Linked DNA regions of Homo sapiens: region 1 is linked to region 2. The links are contacts of gene promoters, found by promoter capture Hi-C in human tissues and cell types (Jung and others, 2019). All regions are on one chromosome and are shown on one strand. The core of a region is centred on a gene start or on the middle of the fragment in contact, and the rest is flanking DNA. Distances in the headings are between cores, read along the strand shown. Region 1 has its middle 19 kb from the start of MIR206. Region 2 holds the start of PKHD1 (PKHD1 ciliary IPT domain containing fibrocystin/polyductin).

The links. The method cuts DNA at HindIII sites, captures the fragments that hold promoters and counts their contacts. A contact is called where the count stands out against the background at its distance.
Region 1: a fragment that was not itself captured here is called in contact with the fragment with the promoter of PKHD1 in region 2 in 2 of the 25 tissues and cell types used here (H1 embryonic stem cells and thymus).

What each region holds. Positions count from the first base shown.
Region 1 is chr6:52,123,740-52,127,782 of GRCh38, forward strand. No RefSeq gene overlaps it. Among named protein-coding and RNA genes, the nearest start is that of MIR206, 19 kb to the right of the region's middle. The HindIII fragment of the contact is 6,917 bases long and covers 1-4,043 here.
Region 2 is chr6:52,085,584-52,089,790 of GRCh38, forward strand. It overlaps PKHD1 (PKHD1 ciliary IPT domain containing fibrocystin/polyductin), which reads right to left and starts at 2,030. Exons shown (of 67, transcript NM_138694.4): 1 at 1,851-2,030. The HindIII fragment of the contact is 13,504 bases long and covers 1-4,207 here.

The DNA.
Region 1 (4,043 bases), core at 785-3,284, 38 kb after region 2:
AGAGGAGAAGGAATAGCATTTCCTCTCTACCTTCCTGCTCCTCAATTCTGTATCACCATGACACAACCTCGCTGATGTTGGGCCAGTTATTATCCCTTATGAAATGCAGTTTTGTTGCTTCTTCTATCCCATTAAATACCCATACATAGCATCTATGCTTCCTAAGAACCTTTATAAAGTCAATGAAAAGTGTGAGCCCAGAGGTGAGCAGTCAGATTTCACATGCAGATAATGTATTTGTCCTGTAGCAAAAATCTTGACAGACTATAAAGTTGTGTTTTTGTTTCCTTTTCTTCATCTTAGAACTGTAAAGGTAGCTCCCCTTTGGAGGGGATATATGTATGGATCAGGACAGCTATCCTAAGACTAGAAGAAGGAATGCTATCATTTGGATAAAAGAGTAGAATCAACATGTTGTTCATTTTTTCTGTGAGAAGGCTAAGATGAGGGGCAAGAGAGACATACTGGGGGGAGTTATGGAGATTGGGTATTGGAACTGTACTGGAGATTGGATACCTGGACCATATCCCTGAGTCATGATAAAGTTGAACCATGGCCCAGAAGATGCAAAAGCAGTGCATCCGGAAAGCAACCACTATGTGAATCACCCAGCCAGTCTTAGCAGGCTGTCCCTGATGTGAGTAGAGCCATTCATTCAACAAACACTCTTCTAATTATTTAGGATACATCAGTGAACAAAATATCAAATTTATATTTTAGCCATCATCTTTTCTGTGCACTGAAACCTTACCTATTCGCTCTCCAGATATTGCCTGTATGGAAGCATGACCTACAGGTAAAAGTTCTCTAATAGATATTCATTTGTCCACTGATGCCCCAGATACTTATAACCCCTGAGGCCAAAAATCACCTCTAGAGTCCTAGCAGAGTGGAGAAGCAAGGATGCCTATGTGGGGTCTGCTAGGACACTCCCCACAGGAAAGAAGGGATGTGGGTCCCCCTGGGACATGTTCTTTCATTCTTATCAAACAAATCAAAATAAAATACAGCTTATTCAATAGAGTCTTCCATCACCTCTTATTCTCCAGAGCAGAGGCTGAATGTCAAACATTTACTTAGTTCTTTCTCTTATTGCCAACATAAACCACATTTAATCAAAATTCCAAAACATTCTTCCAGGGTGGTTAGGAGAGGTTAATGATTGATTGCCTGTCACAAAAGAGCTGACAGGATGATCATTCTCAGAAGCTGCTTGAACTGAGTCCTCCACTGAATATTTAGCTGTTCTGTGGACCCATCTCATGGCCAACCTTGTAGCTGGTTTGTGTTCAAAGAGTCCAAGATCCATACTGGCATCTGGGATCCACTGACCTTCTTAGTGCTACACGCTTGCCCTAAAATTCTAGGGTCTTCCTCAGAACTTTATTTTTCCTGACATAAATGCTAATAATATTTTCCCTGAGAAGCTGAACTTCCATCTCAGCAGCGATTATTTGAGGTAATACATCTAGTGTTCTCTGCCCAAGAGAAATTCAGGAGGGGGGTTTCAGCATGAAAGGCTTTTGTATTTGGGGGGAGGTGGGAATTTCCTACTGTTCAACAGGTTTTTGTTGTAAACATTAACTAGGTGACCTGCCAGCCTTGGGTTTGGAGGGCAGGGTGAAGCTGGGGAAACATGTGGGAGGGAGTGCCACTTCTGTCCCAGGAGGGAGGCCAGGCACCAGGCAGCCTGCATTCACCATTCTCCTGACGTCATGTGGGGACCTCCCTCCCAATTCTCCTTCAAATGATTTTCAGGAAGACTGGTGATCTGTATCGATGTGTCCATCAGAGGGTTTAGACAGAAAATTCACTCTTGTTTTGGGGGAAAAAAAAGGAGAGAAAGGCTCACTTCAACCAGAATTATTGCAAATGAGTAATTTCCAGCCCTAGCCTTTTCTGAAAGTGGGAAGGCACTGGGGATGGTAACTCAAGAGGCAACTAGTAGGGAAAAAAGAAGGGGTTTCACCAGTTGCTGCTCACCAAGAACTAAGGGTTTTTTATGTAACCTGAGTTTCCACTGGCCCCTGTCCCCTACATACATTGGAATGTAGTGGCAGATAGGGTGTCATCATCAACCCAAATGTCACAGGAACTTGCTCTTTTCTACACGTTCAGCAGAACCTTAGCTTCCTTCCCCCCAACATGTTAAAATTTCTGGCTCTCCTCTGAGAAGTTTTATATGCTCACAAGTAAGTGCATCAGCTACCAATGGCCTCTGCTAGATGCTACTGGCAGTTCCTTGGGAACCAAAGATTGAAAAATGGATGCCACACTACTTTATGTGCAATATAATTAAACACCCCCTCTGACTCAATCATTCTACAAATTTAATTTATATACATTTTACATACACCAAATATTAATATAATAAGACTCACACGTAAGCCAGGCAAGGTGGCATGCACCCATAGTCCCAGTGACTTGGGATCCCTTGAGCCCAGGAGTTGCAATCCAGCCTAAGCAATATAGCAAGACTCTGTCTCAAAAAAAAAAAAAAGAAAAAAATACATAAAGAGCAAGAGAGCAATGTGGCCTCTTTATTCTTGTATGATAATCTCCTAGATGGAATTAGTGATAGGTGAAACTATTGCTCCATTACAAAAGGAAAAAGCATAATTCCAAATGGTGGAATTCAACCTGGTACTCTGAAGAAAGTTGATTTTTCATTGTGGTTGAAAAATGTAAAAGGCAGTCACTTGGCTGTCTCTCCAGTTTGCCTGCTTTTGTACCCTTAGGCATTTTCCAATGGTGTAAGCTTATTTCACCATTTTATATGCAAGTATATTTAAATCTATAGAATCCATGACTGTCAAATATCATAGCCCCTGAGGATGACAAACACCTTCTTCACTCAGCTCCATGCCATAATAGTGTAAAATAATTAACTTGAAAGAAGTCAGCCCAGAGTGCCACAAAAACAGTCACTTTTTTCCTCAGCTCTTCTCTGCTCTCACTCCAACCCCAAGCAAACATTTTTCAGCTGGTTAGGCTAGATGTCTGAAAACTGGAGTAAACAGAGACCTTCTAACAGGTACAAGGACACAGACAGTTTTAGGGGAACCGCTTCCCAAATCCTTGGCTCCCACATATATTCAGAGAGTACTCTGCTGAAATTCATTTCTCACTACTTCAACCAGGTTGTCCATTTCTATTTCTCCTTTCACAGCCTTACTTTTTCCACTGTACAGAAAGAAATATACACCTTTAATTTCTCCTGATTCTTCCTGTGGTGCATTTTCCCAAGGTGTAATAAAAACTCTGGGGTGTCAAAAATGGGCAATTCGAAATGTTGGTGTCTGTAAAACCTGCTTCAATCAAGACAATGAAGCTACAGTAGAGCTGCCTGTCTTTTCCTTCTTTGATATATTTCTGTTACTACAAAGTCTGGCATTAGAAATGGGAATTTGAGCCAATATTAGGGTGTTCTAAATTTAGATATGTAGAAGAATAGGATGGCAGGAGTGATGACAATTTTAAATTAATGACTTTATCTCTTTAATTCCATATCATTAAAATAGACATGGCTCCAGAGAGAAGTCGCATAAGATTAGATATAAACAATTATATAAATCTTGCAGTATCTTTTATTTTCAAACATCTAGATTTGAAAAATAAAACTATTAAATTTTTGTTAATGAAAACTGAGGAGATTGGCAAAAATGTAAATAATTTTAATGTTTTCATGTAGTTATCAAAGTTGACTTTGGAAAATCTATTACAAATTAGCAACATTCATTGCAAAAAATGGAAAGTATTGTATGATTGTAGAAAAAGTTATAATTCTTTATGCACTGTTGATAGCTACAATTATGCTAGATGCCAAGAGCATCACTCATTAACTCCGTGATTCATTAATTCACTCATCCACCAACTGTTGTTGGATGAATGAATTCATCCAACAATTAATTCATTCATTAATTCATTAATCCAAGGGCATCACTCGTTAACTCAGTGATTCATTAATTCATTCATCCAACAAATATAAGTAACTACTAAATTCCAAGCACTATTCAGGGTAATCAGGATACATTAGTAACAAA
Region 2 (4,207 bases), core at 780-3,279:
GCCATTCCAGTGCTCACCACCTTCCCCCTGAACCTCTAACTTCCGTGCTGTAGAGCCTAGACCAGATAATGTGGCACACATAGGCCTCTTCTTCCAGACGGCACGTTCCTTGAAGAGACCCAGGAACCAGTCTTCTATTTCCACAGCCTTCCTAGTGTGAAAGTGTGAAGGTCCCACACAGCGCTCAGTACATTGGAGTGGATGAAGACATATTTGAATACCCTAAATCTGGGTTTACCTAATCTGAGATGAACAGCTTTCACTCTCATGCCTGCTCTAAGGAAAGTGCTGAGCTGCTCTCCAGCACCTCATGGCAGAGGGCATCGACAAAATCCTCTTAAAAATAGTGCCTCTGAAATTTTCTGAAAGTTTGAAAATTACAGAATTAAACACCCACATGTACTACTAAATACACGTTTAATATATATTTAATTATGTTTATGTTTATTACATATAAATATATAAATATATTTAATATATATATACATACCTACATACACACACACACATACACACACACAAAGTGTGTGTGTATGTGTGTGTGTGTGGCAGGGTCTCATTCTGTCATTTGGGCTGGAGTGCAGTGGCATGATGTCAGTTCACTGCAACCTCCATCTCCCAGGTTCAAGTGATTCTTATGCCTCAGCCTCCTGAGTAGCTGGGATTACAGGTGTGCGCCACCACACCCGGCTAATTTTTGAATTTTTTGTAGAGACAGGTTTTCACCATGATAGCCAGACTGGTCTTGAACTCCTGGCCTCAAGTGATCTCCCTGCCTCAGCCTCCCAAAGTGCTGGGATTACAGGCATGAACCACCACACCTGGCCATTTAATTTATATTTTTAAGAAAACACTGAGATTAGCAGAAGTAGTTACATCATTTCTGAAAATATAAAAGCTACAATATACTCCCCCCCTCAAAAAAAAAATCTGCAAAAACTTTGCAATAAACTCACCTTACGGGCATGTTCTGATTGAGACAGCTGGAAATCTATAATCATTTCTATTTAATTCAACACTGCAAACATTTATTGTATGCCCACTACGTGCTAAGCACTATACTAAAAGTTGGGAAAACAAACAATCTATGTACCTGCCCCCGAGTCATTACCAGATAGGGTAAGTGTGGAGGCTACTTGGATTTAAGAAAGGAATTCTAGTATTTTCAAGTGGATTCAGCAAGTGTTCCTTTTCGTTGCAAAATTCCCAAACTTTTACGTCTATTTGAAATAGAATTCAACTTATAAATATACAACTTTCAGAATACATCTACCACATAGGGAAAAGTACCCAAGCGTATTTGCTGCTTAGTCCAAAAGCATGAGATCTGACTTGCTTGTTACACAGACAAAATATACTCAGCACAGGAGAGTCTATTTTCAATCTGGCTACGTGATTTTAACATTTCTTCTTAATGCCTACTCCCAAGCTCAGAACAATAGAAATAAACATTCGCACACTGGTTTTCTTAAAACCCTACATTTGGAACTGCATCTTTTTCATGTCAATTATAAATGTAATTTTTTATTAGTCTATCCACTAATTCTTCCTAAAAATAAACTCAGACTCTCTTTATTTCTCATAACTAAAATTTTTCAACCACAGAGGAGAGCTGTGTGCATTTATTTAGTCATGTTTTTGTTCTCCTCTCTCTCTCTCCTCTCTCTGCTCTCACTCCCTCTTCCCTTCTTCCTCCCTTCCCTCTCAGCTTCTCCTTTGGGACATCGAGGGACAAAGTTGCAAGGCACTACTATAGATCTCCCATTTCTTCCTTTTGTTCACCAGAACGTTAACAAGAGATACAACACCTAGAAAACAGAGAGCAGAGACTTTTCTGGATCAAACAGTACCTTTTTTTTCTGTTTCTGTCTCCTTGTGACTCAAGGGAGAAATGATCCTTTCTTTCTAAGTGATCTTATTTCTCTCTGTCAAGAATCCGTGGACATGTTATCTGGTTAGAGCTCAGCCTGCAGCCACCACGCAGGTAACTCACTCACGTTAGACTATAACTCACCTAACTCGTTTGTGTCCCAGCCAAATGTGTACCAGAGTAAAAGTTCAGACCTGACCATGGGTAAGTTTAATGATTAACATAAGCCACTCAGGCTTTTTCCTCAGGGCTTGTTAGTAATGACCAAAGGAAAAGTGTCTTACATTTTTCTCCACTTACTGCATGTGCCCCAGATAAGAATTTTAAGTAAAAGTCCACCCAGTGAGACAAACAGGCATTCAACATTGAAAGAATTTGCCAGCAAATCAGCGATTGAACAGAGGGCTCAAGAGAAAGGACCACTAGAGGGCAGATCCCCATTCATGAACAGTCTCTCACTCTTCATCCCGAAGAGTGACTCGTAAATACCAGGTTATGGGCTGTTATTCATATACCCACTGTAGGGGTATGGGTCTAAAGAAGTACAGAAGGGAAGTAACTTGGTCCAAGTCTTGCTGAGAAAGGGTTGATTGATTCTCTTCATTTTTCTACTCCTCATCCTCCCTCTTGACCTTGCTTTTTTAACCAAGAGGAGGTCCTTGACTTGTACTCATCACCCTCCAGTCGTACCCAGACCATGGGCCTCAGTCATCGGTTGAACTGGTGGGCCTAGGAAGGTCAACAACACCTTCTTACTTGGTCCATGTCTGACTTCTCTGTTCCTGTCCCACTGCCCATTCTGATTCACATCCCCCAATTCCTGATCATGTTTGTCTACGTCTGGCGATACCTGACCAGAAGACGTCCTTATCTTCTATCCTCTCCCTTTCCTTTGAGGGAGAAGTCATTTTGGTAAAATTTGATAGCCCTGAGTCTCCACCTTCAAGGACCAGCAGTAGACCTGGAGAAGCATCTCCAGCAAAACCAGATTAAAGCCATGGAAATACGACCACAACTCTGATGACAGTAGTAAAACTATCCTCTAGAAAGTGTGGAAGTTTACATCAACTCTGCTGTATATCACAGTTTGGCAACCCGTGACAAGCTGAAAAATTTTTGTAGCCCTGAAGCTAGTGGTGTAGAGAGAGGGTGCTTGGCCAGATTGGGGCAGGTAGGGGGTCAGTCACCCCACCACCCTGCCTGCCTGCTGAACCTCTCTCAGTTTCCACTCTGGATCTCTTCCATGCAGGTCAACAAGCATCATTTGAACCACATTTGTGTGCCTGGCATGTGGGTAATGGGAAGGAGGGGGAAGACTAGTTTGGGGGTAAAGGAGATTTCAACATTATTAGTAACTTTTATTTTTATAAAAATGATATGAATCACTTAGATAATTCAAAGTTATATTTTTAAAGAGTATGACACAGTTTCTGCCTTCAAACTGCTTACCATCTGGCAGAGGAGACAGAAATATAATCAGATTATTTTATTATATTGTAGAGTCTCCTGATAAGTTTCCTAAGACTTATGTTTTATTTCTTGTTATTTCAACAAGAGGTTTCCATAAATTAGCCCCACATCTATCCTTGGCTAAAAGGCCTATAATAAATATTTATAAGTATTTTTGGCAGCCTAGCTATCAAGGCCGCATCCTAAAATCACCCCAATTTTCTTATGAGGAGACAGCCACCTCTCTACTATGGACTAAAAGAATCCTAATGACACCCAGGACTTTGGTTTCTGTGCTCTGTGTTATAGGTATTTCGTGGTGGACAATCAAGCTCTATTGTAAAAGAAATAAAGGACAATGAATCATTTCTTGCCTTGAGGCCTAAAAGGAAATGTTGTAGAACTCTAGAGAAAGTGGCTATACCACATGAAGCTTTGGGGAGCCTCCAGTATTCCTGTCATTGGGATATGTCCATGGAATATAAGCCCCTTACACTCCAAAGCCTCTTTCACATAGAAATTCTAAAGCCTTGAGCTCAAGTCTCTGAAAATGCTTCTCAGGAGGCAGGCTGAGCACCATTTCTCTGCTATTCCAAGGAGGGTAGCCATGCCCACCACAGACATTGACAACACTCTACAAGAAGTAATTCCTATGAGTGCTTATAAAATTCTCAGCACAAAAATTGTTACTCAGGCCTATGATGCAAACTCAGGGAGGTCAGGAGAGAGGGTTAATCTCTGACCCCTTTCTCTTGGATTCTAACACTGCTCTGAATTCCTGGAAAACTGTGGGGGCCCATGAGAATGCACCTTGCAGATCTCCAATTACAAGAAGCATAAAAGATCAAGGGCCTAGTTTCTTTGCCATAAAATTCATCACTGCATTTG